4 separate regions of the Homo sapiens genome follow, and regions 2, 3 and 4 are each linked to region 1. The links are contacts of gene promoters, found by promoter capture Hi-C in blood cells and fetal thymus (Javierre and others, 2016). All regions are on one chromosome and are shown on one strand. The core of a region is centred on a gene start or on the middle of the fragment in contact, and the rest is flanking DNA. Distances in the headings are between cores, read along the strand shown.

The links. Contacts are between HindIII fragments. The CHiCAGO score rates a contact against its expected background, and 5 or more counts as called.
Region 2: a contact is called between a fragment that was not itself captured here and the fragment with the promoter of FRRS1L in region 1, in 1 of 17 cell types (activated CD4 T cells). The highest score is 5.2, in activated CD4 T cells.
Region 3: a contact is called between a fragment that was not itself captured here and the fragment with the promoter of FRRS1L in region 1, in 2 of 17 cell types (activated CD4 T cells and total CD4 T cells). The highest score is 5.9, in activated CD4 T cells.
Region 4: a fragment that was not itself captured here is called in contact with the fragment with the promoter of FRRS1L in region 1 in 2 of 17 cell types (activated CD4 T cells and non-activated CD4 T cells); the score reaches 5.8 in activated CD4 T cells.

Annotation. Positions count from the first base shown.
Region 1 is chr9:109,165,071-109,170,354 of GRCh38, forward strand. FRRS1L (ferric chelate reductase 1 like) reads right to left here and starts at 2,179. Exons shown (of 5, transcript NM_014334.4): 1 at 1,831-2,179. The coding sequence starts at 2,068. The HindIII fragment of the contact is 4,411 bases long and covers 1-2,431 here.
Region 2 is chr9:108,941,029-108,946,312 of GRCh38, forward strand. It overlaps CTNNAL1 (catenin alpha like 1), which reads right to left. Exons shown (of 19, transcript NM_003798.4): 16 at 2,934-2,990; 17 at 2,675-2,788; 18 at 1,933-2,016; 19 at 1,549-1,806. The coding sequence ends at 1,741. It also overlaps a transcript of ABITRAM not described here. Among named protein-coding and RNA genes, the nearest start is that of ABITRAM, 9.3 kb to the left of the region's middle. The HindIII fragment of the contact is 1,034 bases long and covers 1,735-2,768 here.
Region 3 is chr9:108,963,706-108,968,989 of GRCh38, forward strand. CTNNAL1 (catenin alpha like 1) reads right to left here. Exons shown (of 19, transcript NM_003798.4): 11 at 1,673-1,823. Among named protein-coding and RNA genes, the nearest start is that of ABITRAM, 32 kb to the left of the region's middle. The HindIII fragment of the contact is 1,773 bases long and covers 1,743-3,515 here.
Region 4 is chr9:108,989,882-108,995,165 of GRCh38, forward strand. It overlaps CTNNAL1 (catenin alpha like 1), which reads right to left. Exons shown (of 19, transcript NM_003798.4): 3 at 2,751-2,938; 4 at 845-964. It overlaps LOC105376216 (a long non-coding RNA gene), which reads left to right. Exons shown (of 7, transcript XR_007061724.1): 2 at 1,956-2,069; 3 at 2,528-2,742. It also overlaps the pseudogene RNA5-8SP3. Among named protein-coding and RNA genes, the nearest start is that of CTNNAL1, 21 kb to the right of the region's middle. The HindIII fragment of the contact is 803 bases long and covers 2,302-3,104 here.

The sequences.
Region 1 (5,284 bases), core at 929-3,428:
CTCACATACCACATTTAAGTCACCTGGCAGCACTAGGCTGTGTACAGTGTAAAGATACATTAGATGCTTTCAGAAACAGACGGGCTTCGGAATATTTATTCTTTTCCAGAGTGACAGATTCCGCCACATGGCTCTCCAGCTAGAAGACTACATTTCTTAGTCTCCCTTGAAGCTAGGTCATTGTAACTATGTTTTTGCCAAAGGAATGTGAACAGCAGTAATGTGGGCAGCCAGCCTAAAAGGTAACTACTTGCCCTGAACTTCTCTTTTTCTTTCCCTCAATCTTGAACAAGGACATGCAACCTGGCTTCTACTGTACTGATGAGGACAAAGCCTCAGGGGGATGGCAGAGCAACAAGATGGAAAGAACCCGGGTCCCTGAATGACCTTGCGGAACAGAGTCATCCCACCAGCCCCAGACCAACCAGACTCTTATCAGAGAGAAAAATAAACTAGCTTATTTAAACCACTATATGTTAAAATCTCTAATTCAGCAGTTAAGCCTCTACTTAATACATTTCCCCAAATCCATTCTCTCCATCTTCTTTAATACAATAATTCTGATTTTTGAACTGGGCATATTATGTCTCAGCTAATAGGCTCTATTTTACATCCTCCTTTGTACCTATGTGCAACCATATGATTAAGTTGTGGCCAAAGAAGTATAAAAATTGTTATATGAAACTTCCGAGTAATCCCTTTATAAAGTAGTCAGTGACCTTCTTCCTGCTTCATTTTTCCCACTGTCTAGAATGTGAACATAATGGCTGTAGCTCAAGCAGTTATTTTGAACCATGAAGTTACATGCTAAGAATTGTGAAGAAACAGAAGGGCAGGATCCAGAGACACTGGTGACCAAGGAGCCTCCAGACCAGTTCTGGATTACCTATTTCTAGTTTTCTTTCTGTAAGAGAGAAACTTCTATCTTGTTGAAGCTATTAATGTTTGCTTGTTGTATACAGCTGAACTTAATCCTAACAACAGACACATCCACTAACAGATATGAGCTCCTGGGACTCAACACTTCAAACCCCAGCTTGATGGTTGGATATCCCTCTTAGCAGAAGAAAAGGAAAGTCACTACTTCCCAAAGTTGCTTAAAGAGGCCAGTTTCCATTCCTTCTGACCACCATCCGCTTGGCTTTTGTGCTCGTTGAAGCAGCTCTACAGGGAGGCCCTTGGCTGACAAACTCCCAGTCTGCGGGCCCAGCAGGCCACAACAATGGTGGCTCGCACTAGGGGACCATAACATATGTGGCGTCATAAAAGAGGAGGGATGGGAGTGGGGAGGCTGATGTGACCCAGCTCTGACGGGTCAGTGAGCAGGAACAGAATGCTACGAGGTGGGCGCTGGTCACTGCAAATTTAAGTCAATACAGACAGGGAGGAAATAAGGCAACCTCTCTCTTTAGGTTGGGGTTTTTCTGCTTCCCCCTAGCTGCCCTGGCCAGATGGCGGCCTCCTCCCCTATAACCCAACCCCAGGCGGCAAAGGTGGAAGCCAGATCTAAGAACTGGGGGAGCTTAGACTCAGCACCCACCCCTATCCACAGCCTTGCAGAACTTGGATGACCCCTCCCTCTCCCAGCCTCACTCTCCCCATCTGTAAAGCGGGCGGCAGGCATTGACAGCTCTTTGGGCCTTTCCTCCAGGCCGGCGGAGGCCTGGGCACTGCGCTCCCCATCCTGGCCTCGCCTCTGCAAGAGCTGCCTCCACGGACATCTTTTCCGACCCCCTCCCCCTCCCTCGCCCCCTCTCCTCGTTCCCCCGATCCTCGGTCCCCCACCCCCGGTCTCCCCTCCCGCAACCCCTCGCCCTCCCGCAGCCTCACCCTCCTCCGACAGGTAGCGCAGGTCGTAGAACTCCCCCGCGAAGGTGCCGTAGGAGGAGTCGTGGCGCGGCACCGCCTCGTCGGCGCCCGTGTCCCCCCGCGCGCGTCCCCGGGGTCCCCGGCCCCCCGGGCCCGCACCGTCGTCCGCGGGGCTGGCTGCGCAGGCGGCGGGCCCCGTCAGTAGCAGCAGGAGCAGCGACGCCCAGACCCCCGGGTGCTGCCGGGGCGGCCGCGCCATCCGTGCGCACAGATCCCGCAGCCAGGCCGCTCGGGCCGCAGCGGGGGCGCCGCGGGCGCGGGCCGGGACTGAGCCTCCGCCGAGGCCACCAGCACGCGCCCGCGCAGCCGCGGAGCCTCCCGCACCCCCGCCTCCCTGCCTCGGTCTGCGCATCCTCGCTCCAGCACCGCAGCCTCCCCCTTCTTCTTGGAACCCCCCTCCTCCCCGCACCGATCTCTCCTTCCTAGCAGCTTCCCTTCTACCGTCCTTCTTTCCATTCTCCCCATCTCCCCGACTTCCCTCCACGCAGGCAGATTTGGCCCTTCTGGCCCCTTGCTACTCCGGAGTGTGGTCCGCGGACCGGCAGCATCAGCATCACCTGGAAGCTTGTTAGCATCGCTGAGGCCCCACTCCAGACCCATGAAGCGGGATGTTCATTTCATCAAAATTCCCAGGAGATCCCAATGCACGTTCAATTTATGAAACGCTCCTCTAGAGAGTTTACCCTGGACACACCTGGTCAGTGCTGCCTCCTCAACCTTGTGCCGGCACTTTTTGGTTTACATAAAGCACTTGCTAGACCTATTATTTCTTGGATCATCACAGAAGGAACTTGAAATTGCAAGACCCCCACAATAGAGCTAGGTAAACTGAGGTGTTTAGAGACAGAGAAAACTGGATTCACCTGCTTCCTCTCCAGGCTCTTGCGGTGTGTAATCAACAGAGGCTGGTGCCAGTAGGTAACCTGTTCCCCTTCAAAACTAGGCTTCTGGTTTACTCTCTTTCCCTGCAGCAAGCACGCGCAGGCCTTGGAAGGCCCACACCGTATCTGAGGGCCATGCTGAATTGTTGATTTTTCTCAAATCCATTCCTGCTGCTTGCAGTTCACTTTTGGCTATTTACTCAGCCATCCATTGATTCACACCAAGCATTTGCTTTATGGCAGGTCCCAGGGTTCTCTTTTGATGATGGTTGTTGGGGTGATATATTCGAATTGCTAAGCTGTTTTCCATCAGAGAGGCGGACGCAATTCCTTTCAGGCTGGTGTTGCAGAGCCAGCATTTTAACCTGCTTTTCCTATTTTATTATTTTATTTTATTGCATAAACAAAATAATTATGGAGGCAGAAAAGCATAGAGGTCCCAAATGCAGACCTAGAAGTCAGACTGCCTGATCTCTCATGATTAGTCATTGACATGATGCAATGAAGATTAGGGAAGATCATAGAGGTAAGGATCAATAGGGTTCAGTGCTGTAAGTGGCATGCACACATGTACACAATATTGTGAAATGTTAATATTCAAAAGGAAACTAGTGATCTTAACCCTTTATGGCCTGATTGGCTGAGAGATAAGGGTAGTGCTGTTGAAACAGGGGAGACATGATGGGGGACTTAGAAGTCAGGTATTTTCTATTAGGTATCAGCTAACAGTGGGCTGTCCAACTGGAATTTAAACATATTAATCCTGATGGCTGAATTGAGGTGTAATTCATGAAAACCTTGGGCTTCACTAGGTCCCCCAACATAGCAGTTGTCACAAAAAATAGATCAGATTATTTGAAAAAGGTAAGATGAACTATGATTACTTTAAAAACTCAAGAGACTTCTTCCCAAAAAGCATAGCGTGGCAATGCATAACATTCTAAAAAAGCTGATCCAACAGATTGAAAATCTGTTAAAGTGTAGTCCTTCAAAAAAAAAAAAAAAAACAAAAACAAAAACAAAAACCTTAAACCTTTCTTAAAAATTAAAATTTCTTTATTTTCTTTTCTTCTCTTTCTGTTCACCAGGGAAGGTATGGTCAACTTAGAATGGACCAAAGTTTAGCCAAAAAAATAAAGCATTAGACTTTTGATTTCAGTGTAGATTCTCTGGTTTGGGAATACAAGCTTTTACCTCTTACTTTCCTTTTTATTCCCTTCATTTTGGTTACTGAAATTAACAATAACGGTGCCCAAATAGAAGGCAAATGAAAACCAGGCCATTCTTCTCCGAGTAAATTAATCTGATATAAAAACACGTGGGCAGCCGGGCACGGTGGCTCACGCCTGTAACTCCAGCACTTTGGGAGGCCGAGGCGGGCGGATCACAAGGTCAGAAGATCGACACCATCCTGGCCAACACGGTGAAATCCCGTCTCTACTGAAAATACAAAAAATTAGCCGGGCATGGTGTCGGGCGCCTGAAGTCCCAGCTACTCGGGAAGCTAAGGCAGGAGAATGGCGTGAACCTGGGAGGCGGAGCTTGCAGTGAGTCGAGATCAGGCCACTGCACTCTAGCCTGGGCGACAGAGCAAGACTCCATCTCAAAAAACAAACAAAAAACAAACAAAAAAACAAAACAAAACAAAAAAAACCACCACCACGTGGGCTTTCTATATTGTTTTTATGGGGGTATTTGGGTATTTTGGGGACGGTTTACAACTACAGCCTAAAATGAAGTTTGCAGGTAAACTGTGGATTTCAATTCTCTCTCTACTCATGTAGACTCACAGGGGGCCACAGATAGGCTTCAGGGGTGATATGAGGACCTTATGAAAGTGCTGGAATAATGTTGTGATGTATGGGTTTTTCTAGGGAGAAAACCCATAGCTTTTTTTATGAATTATTTTTTCCATGTTCAACTTTTTTTTTAATTTACTTTAAGTTCTGGGATACATGTGCAAAATGTACAGGTTTGTTACATAGGTATACATGTGCCATGGTGGTTTGCTGTACCCATCAACCCGTCATCTAGGTTTTAAGCCTGCATGCGTTAGGTATTTGTCCTAATGCTCTCCCTCCCCTTGCCTCACCCCCCACAACATGCCTCGGTGTGTGATGTTCCCCTCCCTGTGTCCATGTGTTCTCACTGTTCAACTCCCACTTATGAGTGAGAACATGCAGTGTTTGGGAAAACCTATAGCTTTTATGGGTCACTCAAGCCTTATGCCTTTTCAGGGCCCAGCAACCTATTCGGCTCCTTCCATTTCATGAGATTCTCTCCCATCCACTCAAATTGCCTTTGGGGATTTTCTTTCTCTTCATGTTTTCTGACACGATTTAAGTCCTGGAAAGAGTGGAGGCAGACCTATTCCAACCTTAAGCACATGCTCCCCTCTTAGTTACATCCTAGGTTTGCAGAGACCCTCTGTTCCCCACCAATGTGACTCTACAGAACAGCTAAGAAATATTGTAGTTTCCTCTACTGTGCAAATTTTCTGGGGAGGAACTTTGCCTGAACATTCTGAGACCACT
Region 2 (5,284 bases), core at 1,002-3,501, 220 kb before region 1:
AACCCCCACTTGCTCTTTCTTTCACTAGAGAACAGTATTTTTTCAGGTATGCAAAAATATTATCTAATGAAAGTACAAGTGGGGGTTGGAATTTTTAAGTTTTAATTATTTACAAAATAATACTTACTTATTTTGTAAATAAAACAACATTTTGGTTCATAGGAAAAACTTGTAATCTGAGTGCCAGCATGACTATCCCCCTAAATATACCCCCCAGACATGATACATGTAGTAAGTGGATAAACACCTCCACGATGGTGCTATTAGCTGAAAATATAAACAAACCAGCAGATCCTCACTTTAAGTAGCACAATGACTCTTGAAGGCGTCATAAAACTATGACAGTAAACGTAGTAAAAGAATTGTGTATAACATTTTACATGTAACATTACCTCACATCATTCTCCCATTATTTCTATTGTAATTTAAAAGAGTACTTTGGTTTCAGAGAATAAAAATCATGCTTAATGATTTTGACTGTTTAAGGAAAGATTTTAAAAAGGTTATTAACAGAGCTGAGTGCATCACATTTTCTCCCGAAGGACTACAGTGAAAATTTTCCTCAATAAAATATTGACTAGCTGTGGTCAATTGGCATTACTGTGGTTCTTCCGGATCTTTTGTGAATACTGATTGTGGTGGCTGACCCAGATAAAGATCATCAGATAAGCTTATATTATCTACTGCCATTTGATAACTGACATACCCTGTTAGATTTCAAAATGAATGTCAAAGCATTAAGATACAAATACTACGACTGAAGTCTAACACAAAGTTGGCCATACTATATTATAAGGAGAAAACCTATAAACCAGATCCTTCAATCATGACCCCACCCACAAAAACAAGAAAAGCTTTAAACTCCTAAATTAAAAAGACTAAAGAAAGATGTTTTTTGTTTTGTTTTATAGTGAACATTTCAAATGTGTGATATTCAGAATTTAAATAGATTCTTGGCTTCCTTATTCTGTCTTTGTCTTCCATTCCATCAATCAATACTGAGAAAGTTCAAAATATCTTTTAAGTCTATAAGATAGGCTTAGAATCCCAGCTAATATTCAGGGCAGACTGGCCAGCTATGCTAGAACTAGAACCAAAAACCCATCTCATACTCTCCAGGAGTTGTTCCAGGATTCTGTGGAGTTCCATTACCTTACTTTTGGGAGTAGGTGAGGGACATACACAGCACAGCAGACCCACCCTTGCTGTACAAAATGCTTATTAGGGAACAAACTTGCTGCTGGCATGGACAATCTGGGACAGGGTCATCAAGGGGATTTTTGTCACACTTGGTAAACAGAGGGATTGAAGAGTCCACAGGTTTAAGGAAAACCCTGCATTCACCCAGACTACTGTATGTTTGCTGCTGACATTAGTGATCTAGATGATAAAGAAAACAGTTAAGGTAAAATATGCCAAAGCTAAGCACATATTCAAAATAGCTTCTTGTGGATTAAATTGTCCTTGAGACAGTTGGGATATTTGGTTTGACTTTTAAAGAACATTAGTGCAATGTTCTATTTTAAAAATCACACTACAATTAGAATCTAGCAATTACCAAGACATTTATTAGTTGTCAAAAAGCTTTACAATCAGTTTCATGATCAGAAAATAGAGCAAAATTTCAATATTGTTTTCTTTATAAAATTGATGAATTTCTGAAAAGATAAAGGATCATTTGATTTTTAAAAATGTCAGCTTCATCACATGATGTTCCAGAGATCTGACCCCAAAAGCTTCTCAAGTTTTACTATCCATAGTGTCCTTATTTGTAACTGAGACCCATCCGTTATTTTCCATCTGAAGCTGGAAAGAGTTAAGACAATTAGTATCTGGTTTCACTCTGAAAAAAAAATTACAAAATTAAGTAGTAACTATTTTCTTTTAAACCATTTTTTAAAGTATGAGTCTAAAATAGAAAAACTACCTCACCTTCTTCAGCAGTTTATAACAAAGTGAAAGAAGTTGGACTAAGAGAGCCATCATGGATCTTGTCTTCGTAATACACTTGTCAACCTACAATGACAAAAAGCATGCAAATGATATTCTAAAAGTAGTACTTAAAAGACCTTACCATTTATTTAGTTTTAACATGATAAAATTTCTCCATATGGAAATCTAAGGGATCTTGAAAGAGATATGGATTTAGGCACATGAGCTGACTCAAAGCCCCAGGACACAGGTGCAGGGGTAGCTGCCTAGATTTCATGTCTATCTCATGGAACCCCAGCAGAAAGAGTGGGTGGAAAATTAATCATTCTACTGCAGGCTGTTTAGGGGCTTCTCAAAACACTCCAAATAGTGGAATTAAATCCCATCCTTTGCAATTCCTTGCACTCTATTTTGTGGGCACAAACCCATATTCTCTCAGACAAATTATGGGAGACCAGACTCGGAGGCACCTGTGTCCTAGTTGCAGAGGTAATGACTTCAGAATTGAAGGGCAGCTGTTCAGTGCTATGGAATTAATGATGTCCAAAAAACTACTTTATTTGGTGAATCTGCTACTCTCTGGGGTCAGTTATGAGAGTAGATAATAAATGATTCTTGTAGACAAGGCATGAAAAAAGGAAATAAATTGCCCTTCTGTGGGTACTAACAGTTTATTTGAAGAAAAAGGGGCTTTAACCAGATAAAGATAGATGTGTGAAAGTTTTTCATATGTCTCTTTTACCTTTAGAAATACTTTATTCTGCAAAGAAGTCTTAGTTACTGTCTGGAGCTGGTGGCATAGAGGAATTAGCTTGTTTATTTCCAGGAGAAGCATAAGCTTGTCATCGTCTTTCAGCTGAAATGTAATTTAACAAGTTATAACAGCCCGCAACAAAACTCCATCTTTAATACCTTAAACACATTTATACATTGATATTATACCCCCAAAGTAGGTTATACATAATACCACCACCAGCTCCAGGTAGGTAGACATGTGTTACCTGTTTTGAAAAAGCTTGAACACTGGAAGTAAGCTTTAAACCCTCTGCAGCAAAAACCTGGTAGAAAGAGAAAACACCACTATTTTAGACTGATGTCTATGGATAGTTGGTAAGAAATATACTTACTAATAATTTTTACGTAGAATTTTAAAAATAAAGCCTAGATATAAAAAGTCTGTCAGGAACTCCTAAACTTTTTCCAGTACCAGGAATGCACAAGGGTTTAACTGTTTTCAGAAGGAGTTTCCACAGACCAGATGCAGAATCCATCCCTGGAGAGGCTTCTCTACACCAGACCTCCAATTATTCTGGAGGGTCACACAGACCTGTGATATTCAGCCACACAAATTATGTCTAGATTACGCAAGGGACCTAGAGCTCATCTCAAATATGCTCAATTATAAAAGGATGATGAATTTTCAAGCATGAGGTCAAAAGGGTTAGGACCTTCCCAATTCCATCTAGGCAAGACAAAATTTGTCACCCATACATATTCCATAACCAGACATTTGAGAGAACCAATCCAGGTGGTTGGTTTTTGTTGCCACTTTTTTTCAGATTAATTTTCACTATTCACCATGTACCATGAATTCTATAATTTAATGAGATGAACAGGATGATGGAGAAGTAGAGTGAAAAAGAAGGTTGTACAGGTAAGACAGAAGTATTTAGCATATTATGTTAAAATGGTTTGCAGACTATTTTAGAGTGAGATGCCAGGGGAGTAAAGGGAGGAAGGCTTAGTTTTAGGTGGCGTCAGTAATAATGGAGAGAACAGGGAAAATCTGAGAGTGGTTTGTGAATGAAAATAATAGGTCTTCATAATAAATTAAAGAATACTAAGAAGGAGGAGGCAATAATTCCAGGGTTAATTTTTACCCTCTATTCAAAAGGCTTAACACCTTGCTATCACTGGATAAAATGATCTCAAGGTCAAATCGTACTTTGCAACCTTCCCTTTAAAAGGGAAACCAGTAAGCTTTACATCTAGACTCCAACCAAATGAAATGATTCACTTCCCCAAGTGTTCCTTATCACTTCATGTTACCACTTTCTATTCTGCAAATTTTCTCTTTCCTTCTAGCCTGCAAACCCCTTGGGGACAAAATCCATGTCTGTCTCATACAGTATGATGGTTTTAAAACTACCTGAAAGCTGGTAACTCCCAGGTCTCTCTCTCCACTCCTGAACTATCCTGACATCAGTCTTGTACAGTCATCCCTCAGTATCCATGGGAGATTGGTTCCCAGACCTCCCCAAGGATACCAAAATCTGTAGATGCTTAAGTCCCTTAAATAAAACAGTGTAGTATTTGCATATAACCTACACACATCATCCCATAAACTTTAAATCATCTCATCTCTAAATTATAATATCTAAGTTAATGTAAATGCTAAGTAAATCGCAGTTATACTGTATTGTTTTCCCTCCCTTGGAACTCTAACCTTTTAAAATGTATTTTGTTTTTTTTTACTGTTGTTATATTTTATTGGTTTTCTTCCTTTTTTTTTTTTTTTTGAGACAGGGTCTCACTCTGTTGTCCAGAGTGAAGTGAAGTGGTGTGATCACAGCTCACTACAGCCTTGACCTCCCAGGCTCAAGCGATCCTCCTGCCTCAGCTGCCTGAGTAGCTAGGATTACAGGTGTGTGCCACCATGCCCCGCTAGTTTTTTTTTTTTTTGTTTTGTTTTTTTGTAGAGACAAGGTCTCACTATGTTGCCCCAGCTGGTCTCAAACTCCTGGACTCAAGTGATCCTCCCAGCTTGGTCTCCCAAAGTGCTAGGGTTACAGGAGTGAGCCATTGTGCCCAGACTGTTTTTACTGTTTTGAATATTTTCAATCCATAGTTGGTTGAATCTGCAGATGCAAAACCTGCAGATAGGGAGGGCCAAGTGTATATCCTATCTGACCTTTGTACTTAACATGTGCAAAACAAAATGCTCGATTTCCACCCTCTAAATCTAGTGTTCTCCCTCAGTGTTCCCTGTCTCAGAAAATGGCACTACCACTCACTCTGTTGGCCAAGCCAAAAACCTTACTTAAAACATAATAGGATCAGCTGGGCATAGTGGCTCAGGCCTGTAATCCCAGCACTTTGGGAGGCTGAGGCGGGCGAATCACAAGGTCAAGAGATCGAGACCATCCTGGCCAACATGGTGAAACCCTGTCTCTACTAAAAATACAAAAATTAGCTGGGCGTGGTAGCGCACACCTGTAGTCCCAGCTACTCGGGAGGCTGAGGCAGAAGAATCACTTGAACCCGGGAGGCGGAGGCTGTAGTGAGCCGAGATCGTGCCACTGCACTCCAGCCTGACAACAGAGCGAGACTAAGTCTCAAAAAAAAAAAAAAA
Region 3 (5,284 bases), core at 1,379-3,878, 200 kb before region 1:
GCTGATGACAACTGATAAAGCCAGAAGACAATATTCCTCTGGCCTTTAAAGAGAGCCAGCCAGGATAAAGACACAGTGCAGGGTATATTCATGCCCAGAAGTCGAAAGTACACTAACTTCAGGTAGTGCTCACAAAAGACTTTTAGAGCTGACAGGTCACTGAGATCACTGAGCCTAAGACTTTCATTATTGAGTCAAGGACACTTGGGCCCGGAGCAGGGAAAAGCTTGCCTAACACCAGTTTGAGAAAGACCTGGGCCTTACAGATACTCCAGGATAACCCACACCAGGTATCTTATCACAACAGCAAGCCACTTCTCTTCATTTCCCAACAGTCCCTAAGGCTAAGTGACCACTCTTCTTTTTAAAAGTGGATCAATTATATCATTTACCTTTTAATATCCAAAATTTGGCTCATATGAAAATCTATGTAACTATAAATACAAAGCATCAAAATGATTTGCCATTCAGACTATCACAGAAATTTTTAAATGTGGAAGCATGGTAAACATTTATCATACTTTACAAATGATGTTATAGCTATAATTCTATTATGCCCTGATTTTTAAGCAAATTAACATTTATCCTAAATGAGTATTTTTAAAATATGAAATGTTTAAATGGGCATACTCAATAAAAAATATGTAATTTGATATAATTGTAAATGACATTTTATTTAAAAAAATAAGCAAGCTTTGACACTACAGAAGCCATTTGAAGAGAAAAAATATAAACATGTAAATATAAATAACAGGACACACAGTACAATGGAAAATAAACAAAACTTCCACTCGGTATTAAAATAAAGAATAAAAATGATGCCTTCCTATACATTGTATGGCACTATTCTACATGTTGTAGAAATACCAATGAACTTACCCACCACAGGCAATATTCCAAGATTATGTAGTCATCAAGGAAAGAGATTCCATCCAAGTGGAAGGAAAGCAATTCAAAAATCAAATAACTACATTCATTTCATTATGAAGTTAGTAGAATTAAAACATAGAATTACTGCATTATAGAAGAGCTGTTGTATTATAATTAAAAAACAATTCAGAAGAAATTTAAAAATGACTATTTCAATAGGAAAACTAGGATGTTAATATTAATTCAGAGATCTACTATGCTGTTTGTTTTATTTATTTATTTATTTATTTATTTATTTATTTTTTGAGACAGAGTCTTGCTCTGTCGCCCAGGCTGGACTGCAGTGGCGCCATCTCAGCTCACTGCAACCTCCGCCTCCCGGGTTCAAGTGATTCTCGTGCCTCAGCCGTAGTATCTGGGATTACAGGCGCACATCAACACATTCGGCTAATTTTTGTATTTTTAGTAGAGACAGGGTTTCACCATGTTGGCCAGGTTGGGCTCGAACTCCTGGCTTCAAAGTGATCCACCTGCCTTGGCCTCCCAAAGCGCTGGGATTACAGGTGTGAGCCGCCACACCTGGCCTACTACACTGTTGTACAACAAACTTTACTGCTTGGATACTAAAATAAAGGAGGATAAAATAATATTTTTGTAATTTTTTTGTGAACAATATTTTACTACAAAAATAACCCAGCTGGGTTACGACAAGAATTCATTTGCAGTTGAGGTTTGGCATTAAAAAACTAACAAGAGTTACATTAAAATAATAACATATTTCATTATGTGGACAGTTTCTCACCTCGTCTTCCTTCAAACACGTCATTGATTTCTCTCAGCAGTGTTGACATGTCACTAATTTGGGATTCCCAAGCTTCACAAAATACATCTAGGTTTTCTTTAGCAATTTTACTAGATGGATGCAATGTCAATGTTTCAGCAGCAGAAATTATCTAAAGAAACACAATATACACCTGTGTGAATTTCAAAATCTTAGCCCTCAGAATCACTTTGAAGACCAAAGGTAAGTAAGTCTGCTGTTCAATTCAACTCAATAAACAACTATGAAGTAATTTCTATACACAAGCTCCATGTTGGGCAATATGAAGATGCACAGTAGGACAAAATTTGCTGTTTCTTATAATCTGACCTGCAGACAAATAGTATGCATTATTATATACAAACCTGCATTCAGGGAGCAATTCTCTTCACTCAAGTAAAACTCTGTTTGAACAAAGTTGTTCCCATAGAATAATTCAAACAGTTATACTCAGACCACAAAAAGTGTACTGTATACAGAGTAGCAAAGGTAGCAGTAATAGTGGTGGTGGTAGTAGCAGTGGTAATAGTAGGAATGGTAGTGATAATAATAAGTAACATATATACACACCCATGAGTACTTGGTAGATACATGCTTGAGATACTGTTTGGTGTTTGAGATACATTAATACATTAATATCCCCCAAAATATACAAATAAAATACTACTTTTTCCAAATAAGCATTATTCCATTTTTCAGCTGGAAAAGTTGAAGCTCCGAGATACCCAGTAACTTGTGCCAGACCCTATTACGAGTATACACAGAGTTGATATCTAAACTCAGATCTACCTGATCCAAGTTCAGGCTCTTTCCATCACATCACACTGCCACTCACAAAACACTTGTAAAGAGGGCAGAAATCATCCTGGTACTTTTACGTACCACCACATGGGCTAAATAAATGTGTTGAATAAATAAATAAATTGTTGCAGAGACTGCTATGTTTTCATCAAAATCTGTTTGTCTTCCCTCTGGATACATAGGAAGATTACATTTCCCAGCCTCCCTGGTGGAGACATATGGCCACGAGACTGAGTTCTGTCCCCACTTGAATGTGGGTCACCACTTCCATCCTAACTGATCCAAACCTCCCTCGTGCCCCTCAGTGCTCTCTCCCTTCCACATCTGATGGTTCAATGCACAGGCTCCAGTAGGGACTTTGAGGTCCTGAGGGCTAGCGAGGCACAAAATGAAAGGGGACCGGATTGCCAAGAGGGAGAAAGACATACCATTAATCAGGACTTAATACAAGTGAGAAATAAACTGCTATTATATTAAGCCTGAGATTTTGGCATTTGGGGTTTTATTTAGTGTTAGCTACTACATGAATGAATTAATGAATAACTAACATTTTATCTTTCATATAATAATCACTCTCTAACACAAAGGACTTGATGGATGCTAATTGTAATATAGGCAGAAAATGGATGGCTGGGTTGAGTCTTCACACACCTCCTGACCTGACATTCAGTAGAAATTACACTTTAGCTTCTACCTCAAAATAGAAGCCATCGACCAGACCCAACCTACTGAAATTTCCTGATGGCCCATTACATAAAACACACACACACAAAGATCCAGGAGCTAGGAATTCAGAGTTCAGTCTTGATATGTTCACAGCAGATCCTTTCCCTTCTACCACTTTCACCTTCTATTCATGACAACAGGCACTGATTCTGTCTACCTTCTTGTTTCACAGACTGGGGATATTATATCAAATACTCATCTAGTAAGTAGTATTTTAGAGAATCCACTATGTGAAAAAATCATGCTAGGTGCTGGGGATAAGGTGATAAAAAAAGAAGATAAAAGCCCTCTATTATGAAGCTTATACTCTAGTGGAGATTTGGAACTATAAACAAGCACACAATTAAAATACTATAAATTATGATAACTGCTATGAGGGAAATTAATAGGATAATGTGATAGAGATGCCCATTACTAACAAGTGATGTTGTTGTTCCATGGAGTTGATTATATGGGATTATTCACACACACATGTATACAACTAACATGACTATTCATTCACCCACTACATACTAGTAGGCACTGTGCCCACGTTCCAGGTGCTGGGGAAACAGCTGTGAATGAAACAGATAAATGTCCCTGGCTTCATGGGACTCACATTATAACAAGCAGTGGGAGAGACACAATTAAAATAAATTATAAAATATTTTAGAAGGGAATAAAAATATGTATCAAAATAAAGGGTGAGAATGATGGAGGGGATTAGGTGGTCACAGTATTTTAAGTTAGAGAGTCACTGAAAAGGTGAGGGAGCTACAGGAAAATCGAGGGGAAGTCATTTGGGATGGGGCAGAAACACTTCTGGAGTGTTCAAGGAACAGCAAGTAAGCCAGAGGAACAGACTGACATGAGCAAGAGGAAGGTGGCCAGTGGCCATGTAATGGAGAAGCATAGATGGTAAGGACTGGATTTTCTTCTGAGTGAGAAAGTCATTGGGGAACTTACAGAAGATTAATATGATCAGGGCCATGTTAGCTAATATATTAATAGTTGGTACCTTTGAATGAATTACAGGGCCATGTTAGCTAATATATTAATAGTTGGTACCTTTGAATGAATTACAGCTAGCTGTTCCTCCCTCTGGGGTGGGCATAGTGTCACAGGCACAGCACTTGCCAAGCAGATGGCAGTGTTATAAGAACAAGGTTCCCCTCTTCAGGGAAAGCAGGCACATAACTTGCCATGGACTACAGGCTAGATTTTGGCATTGCTCTCCTCTCAACTAGTGTACAAACTGTTCAACTGTTCCCTCAGTATGTCTAACATTTTAAAGGAAGTATAAAAATAACATTGCCAAAGCAGAGATATCCAGAAATAAATTATCCCAGAGGCATGCTCAATGTCCTTAAATTATCCTTTTGTGAGGCAGATGGCAAAGACTAGGAGTGGAAGCTAAGGCTTTGGGAACAGAAAAAGCTTCTCAAGTTATGCAGGTTATTAACAACATGCTCTGCCACTATCCTGGGGAAGAAAATATGGCTATTCCTAATATCTCTGCTGCAATAAAACAATAAACCAAAAATTGCAACCAGATGGCAAGCAGGGCCTGAGGATAGGAGCAACAACTGATTGCATATGGCAGGAGAGTCAAGCCCTCCAGTTCTATTGGAATACTTTTGCAGCCAAGGCAAGAAAAGTGACTCCCATGCCAATATTGAAGACACAGTTTCTCCCAGTAAACAGATCCCTTGGTTGTAATAAAGTGTTCAGCAGATAATCATTGTGGAGGTTCATTCATATAGTTCCTGCTTTCATGATAAGCCTTTGACACTGTTCTCTACAGGAGAGCATGAGATCATCCCTCCAACATCCAACATGATTCTCCTAGAGGGCACACACCATCGTTGAGTCTAGGTCACTTGCACTGTTCTCAGCTATAAATCAAAGATGCAGGGACTCAACCTCTACTGCCCAATATTGCAAGTTAGGAGGAATCCTTTTGGCTGACAGTAAATAAATGAATATAAATAAAGTATAAATTAAAATATAAATAATATTTAAAAAAATAAACAAAAGAACAACTGCAAAACGTTATTTTAGAGCTTAGACTCTAAGAAAGAAGGAAAC
Region 4 (5,284 bases), core at 1,453-3,952, 170 kb before region 1:
TCTACTAAAAATACAAAAAGTTAGCTGGGCGTGGTGGTGCATGCCTGTAGTCCCAGCTACTCGGGAGGCTGAGGCATGAGAATCACTTGAACCCAGGAGGTGGAGGTTGCAGTGAGCCGTGATCACGACACTGCACTCCAGCCTGGGTGACAGAGAGAGACTCCATCTCAGAAAAAATAAAATAAAATAAAATAAAAAACAAATATCATGTTGTAGTTTGAGAACTACAGACTTTAGAATCAGATATAACTGAGTTCGATCTGCTAGCACAGTGACCTTGGGAAAGTTTATCCTTGTCTCAGGTTCAGTTTCCCTATATGTAAAACAGTAGTTAACAATACCTACCTCATAGGGATGTTTTGAAAATTAAATGAGATCATGTATATTAAGTACCTAACACATAGGCAGTGCAAATAAATAATGGCTTGGGTTATTACTATTAATCTAATACGGTAAGAATAACAAATATCTAACAAGATACTATAAGAATACATATGATGACTCAATTTTATGTGCCTGAGCCCTAGTAGAGGAATCAAATGGAAAGCTTCATAAAAGAGAAAGTAACCAAATAAAAGGAAGAAGTACTTGAGTTGAGCCCTGATAGCAAGTATGACCTTTCCCAGTGTGTGAGGTGGGAACAAAATTAACTGTTATAAATGTACAAAAAAAGACATATAGATCTACTTACTTTATCCTGGCTTATCTATGAAAGGCTTTCAAGACCAAGGCTATAGACTTAATAAGCAAAGAAACCAGTCCAAACAATCCTAACGATCATACCTCCATCCAAACTAAAAAGTATGTATTTATCTGAAGATTGTAAAATGTGATGAATACATACATTTTGTCTATCTCCACTCAGATGTGCAAACTCCACCATTTCATTTCCAAATTGACTGAATATTTGGACAAACTCTTGAAAGCTATTCACTTTCTCTAGTCTTTCCATAGTTGCGAGAACCTGCAAAACAGATAATAATTCATTATTTGGTGAGAGCTACTCAAGAGACTGAGATTGTCAAGGCTGAGTAGAGAGAAGAAAAGGAAAATTCTGAATTCTAGGTGAAAGCTGAGGAGGAGGAGCCAGATAGAAGACACACAAGGGGATGCTCAGAGAAGTAGAAGTAGATTCAAGGCACAGAATTATTAGGGGAATGATTTGTTTATATGATGAGATTTTGAGTTACTTGAAAAGGAAAAGGAAAAAGAATAAAAGAAATGACTACATATACAAAGGAAGGGATCATTTATGTAGCCAAGTCTAAAAGGTGGGAATGGGCAGGACCACAGTAATCAAATCTTCAGAGAACTGGGAAGGGGTGAGGATGAAAGTCAGCACACACAAGCTTTAAGGTTCAGTGAACCAGGATGATAGGAACCCTAACATTCTCAGGAAAGCAGAAGGAACCTCATCATCTTCAGAGTATAGAGTCGAAAGGGAAGTGTGGGACTTTAAGGGTGGGAAAATTAGTCTGGCTCAGTCAGGAATGGGCCATCAGGGGTGAATAAAGAGTGTGTGAATCTGGTAGAGCCAGTGACTAAAATGTTATGTGTTTTCTTGATGTAAGAAACAAAGTAAATAGATGTGAAACATATTTTCAAATACTTTTCTTTAAAATAACATTATTAGATTGTTTTAGTCGCAACAAGATAAGTTAAAAAAAAACACAGATATCCTCTGTTTACTTATTTTTCCTGAGAATATGATGAATATTTGGCATGTTAATCTGCCCTGGCAGCTCAGGAAGTTCAGGCGACTAACACTGATAAGGCACGTTGCCACCACTGTGAGAACCTCCATCTTTCAAAGAGGGGAAGGTTGTTTGTATTTCTCCAGCGCTGCCAGATCCACCTCTCCAATTTCTGATTCATTCAACACTTATCAAGTGGTTTTATCCTCAAATCCTCTAGGACAACTCCTTCCCTGGCCAACTGCTCTCCTCTTTGCCTAGGGAATTATCCAAAGCAAGAAGTGATCGTACATACCCTGGATTCCCAGATGATCATGGAGCATGACCATCATCTGAGAGATTAACTTCTGGACTGGAAGAGTTTAAATCTGTTCTGTAAGTTTTGAGATTATTCAGTAACATTTAGGGACTCTGAGTACAGAAATTTTGTAGTTGTGGATAATTATCATTTCCACTGATTTAACTGTGTCTTAAGTTATATATTGTTAGTCTCTGATTTGGGAGGGAAAAAAAGTACAGAAGAATTCAGTATTTTTATCAACTAGGTTTCTGCTACATACATTATCATAGTGCTCACCTTTTCTTTCCAAATGTTGTACACATTTAAAGCTTTTACCAATAAGCCTTAACAAGTGGATAATGATTCTCTAAGAGGAGACATTACTTGCATTCAAAAGTTTAGGCACAGCATACCCATCATTTAAGAATTGCACATATAGAAGAAACACTACTTTTAAACTACAGACAGAGTTATAAACAATTATAATAGACAAGCATTGCCAAATTACTTACAATTAACCTAAAAAGAACTTTTCTTTTTTTTTTTTTTTAAGCAACGCTCAGACATGCATAGCCCCGGGAGGAACCCAGGGCCACAAGTGCATTCAACGTACAGATGATCAGTGTGTCAATGTATCCTGCATTGCACATTAATTCCCACAGCTAGCTGCATTCTTCATCGACACACAAGCCAAGCAATCCACCACTAAGAGTCATAAAAAGCACTTTGAACAACACAGAAAGACAAAAATACAGCAACATCAGAAAGGTAAGTACCTTATTTCTTGATGTTATTATCTGTTTAATGACTACTCGGTCTGCCAGCAACAACACTTTTGTCACTGAAGAAAGAAGTAATCTTGCAGCCTTTATCACTCCTGTTTTGTCTGTAAAAATTGTGATCTGCCCATCAGATTCCAGATGGTTCAAGTTGGTTATGTCTGTAAGTGCTGCAATTGTTTCTCCTAACAAGAAAGACGAGGGGAGAAAGTTAAACAGGCATACAAATTAAAATCTAGACTTCTCTCTAACCTTGAAGGTAAGGCACAATGAGGAGAAACTCAGCTTTGGAGTCTTACTTCAGGAACAAGAAACGGTTTCACCTTGACGATTGTAGGGATTATCATACGAAGCTTTCTAACCAGAAAATAATAGCACACTCTTAAGAACTGTGACAAATTTTGCCCTCACCCAGTTTGAAAAACATCATAATTTTTGTTTCCAGTGGTAATGCAAACTACACAATCTAAAAGCCTCCTGCCCTACAAGACAGTAAGAGAAATCCCATGAGTCAAAAACCAAAGAATACCCTAAAACCCGAGCAGTAAGCAGGTGCCAAGGCTTGGGCTGGGGCGAGGCCGGGGAGAAGTCAGGGGTCACTGCCAATCTCCACAAGCTGAACGGCCTTGGGTTTTCACCCTTGGGTTTTCACGGATCCTCAGAGAGAGAAAAAAGACAGGGCTTTAGGCCCCAAGGGATGACATCTTCAATATAATGGGGGCCCGGAAAGAACTGTCAATAGGCAAAAAGAAACAATAAGGAAGTTTGTCTGTCAGTCAGCCTGGACTTTGGGTGGGGAAAGTAAACAAAACAAAAGCCTCCCTCCTGAGAATTCAAACCACAGGCTGGCCCTCATTTAGGCTACAGTTTGAATTTATATAAACTTCTTATGATGCCCAGCATAAACCATTCTATTAATTGAACTCCCAACCCTCTAGAAAAATTATCTTCTTCACTGTTGCTATCAAAACTTTTGATTTCTGTAATGGTAATTATCTACTAATAAAACAATCCAAGTATTCTTGTATTATAATACAAGGCTACAATATTCTTCAAACCTCCATACTGTTAAAAAGATTTTTAAAATAATAAACCTTTAACCAACTTATAGTGTTCAAGATCATTTTTTAAAGTCCTAAATATACCTGTGTGCCTAATGGATTGATTTTCTTACAAAAGCCCTCCTGTCAATTCTATTACATACACACAATAATGTGTCAGCTCATAGGCTAAGGATCTTGAGTAAAAAGTACTGGAATCTTAATGGAGAGGCCACAGGGTGAAGTATAAGTCAAGGTTTGGAAAGATCAGTCTGGCAGGCACAGTGGCTCACACCTGTAATCCTAGCACTTTAGGAGGCCGAGGCGGGTGGATCACCTGAGGTCAGGAGTTCAAGACAAGCCTGGCCAACATGGCGAAACTCGGTCTCTACTAAAAAAATACAAAAATTAGCCAGGTGTGGTGGCAGGGGCCTGTAATCCCAGCTACTCAGGAGGCTGAGGCAGAGAATCGCTTGGACCTGGGAAGCGGAGGTTGCAGTCAGCTGAGATGGCGCCACTGCACTTCAGCCTGGGTGACAGAGTGAGACTTGGTCTCAAAAAAAAAAAAGAAAGATCAGTCTAGTAGGAGTACATAAAATAGAATGGAAAGGAAAGACTTAGAGCCAGGCTATTGTATCAATTGTGGGTGTGAAATAGTAGGGACCTTACTAGTATAGTAGCCATAGGAACATTAAGAAGATGATTTGGGAAACATTAAGAAAACACAAAATTAGTACCTGACCAATGATAAGAAGGAAAGAACGAGTAAAAAAATGGCCTCAAAGTTGTAAACCTAAGTTGCTTAAAGAAAATCGAAGGGCATTGGAAGAGAGATGATAATTTTACTGTCAGACAACAGGAGTTTGAAATAACACAGGAATACACCAAAGATAAGTCGCAAGACATGGACTGGTAATGCAGACTTGGATGTCTTGTGTATAATGACAATAGCTGAAGCTCTACAGATAGAGGAATTCTGTGGTAGCCAGCCTTCAAGATCGCTCCCCATGATCCCCACCTACTGTTATTGACAACCTTGTGCTGTCTGTCCCCTCCCACATCATACCAGGGTTGGTATGGTGGAAGTGGTGGTATGTCACTCCCAAGCTTAGGTTCTAAAATAACTGAGGCAGCTGTCTGGGTTGCTCTCTCTCTCTGAGAGAAGCCAGTTGCCATGTCATAAGCAGCCCTTACTACACAGATAACTACGTGGAGAGGAAGTGAGGCCTCCAGCCAACAGCCAGCAAGGAAGTGAAGCCTGCCAACAACCATGAGAGGGAGGCTGGAAGCAGACCTGCAGTGCACTCAAGCTTCCAGGTAACAGAGGCCTGGTCAACACACTGACCGCTACCTCATGAGACACACTGACCCTGAGCCACCCAGTGAAGCCACTCCCTGATTGGTGCCCTCTCAAAAACTGACATAGTAAATGTTTGTGGTTTTAAGTTGCTAAGTTTGGGTTAATTTGTTACACAGAAATAGGTAGCTAAT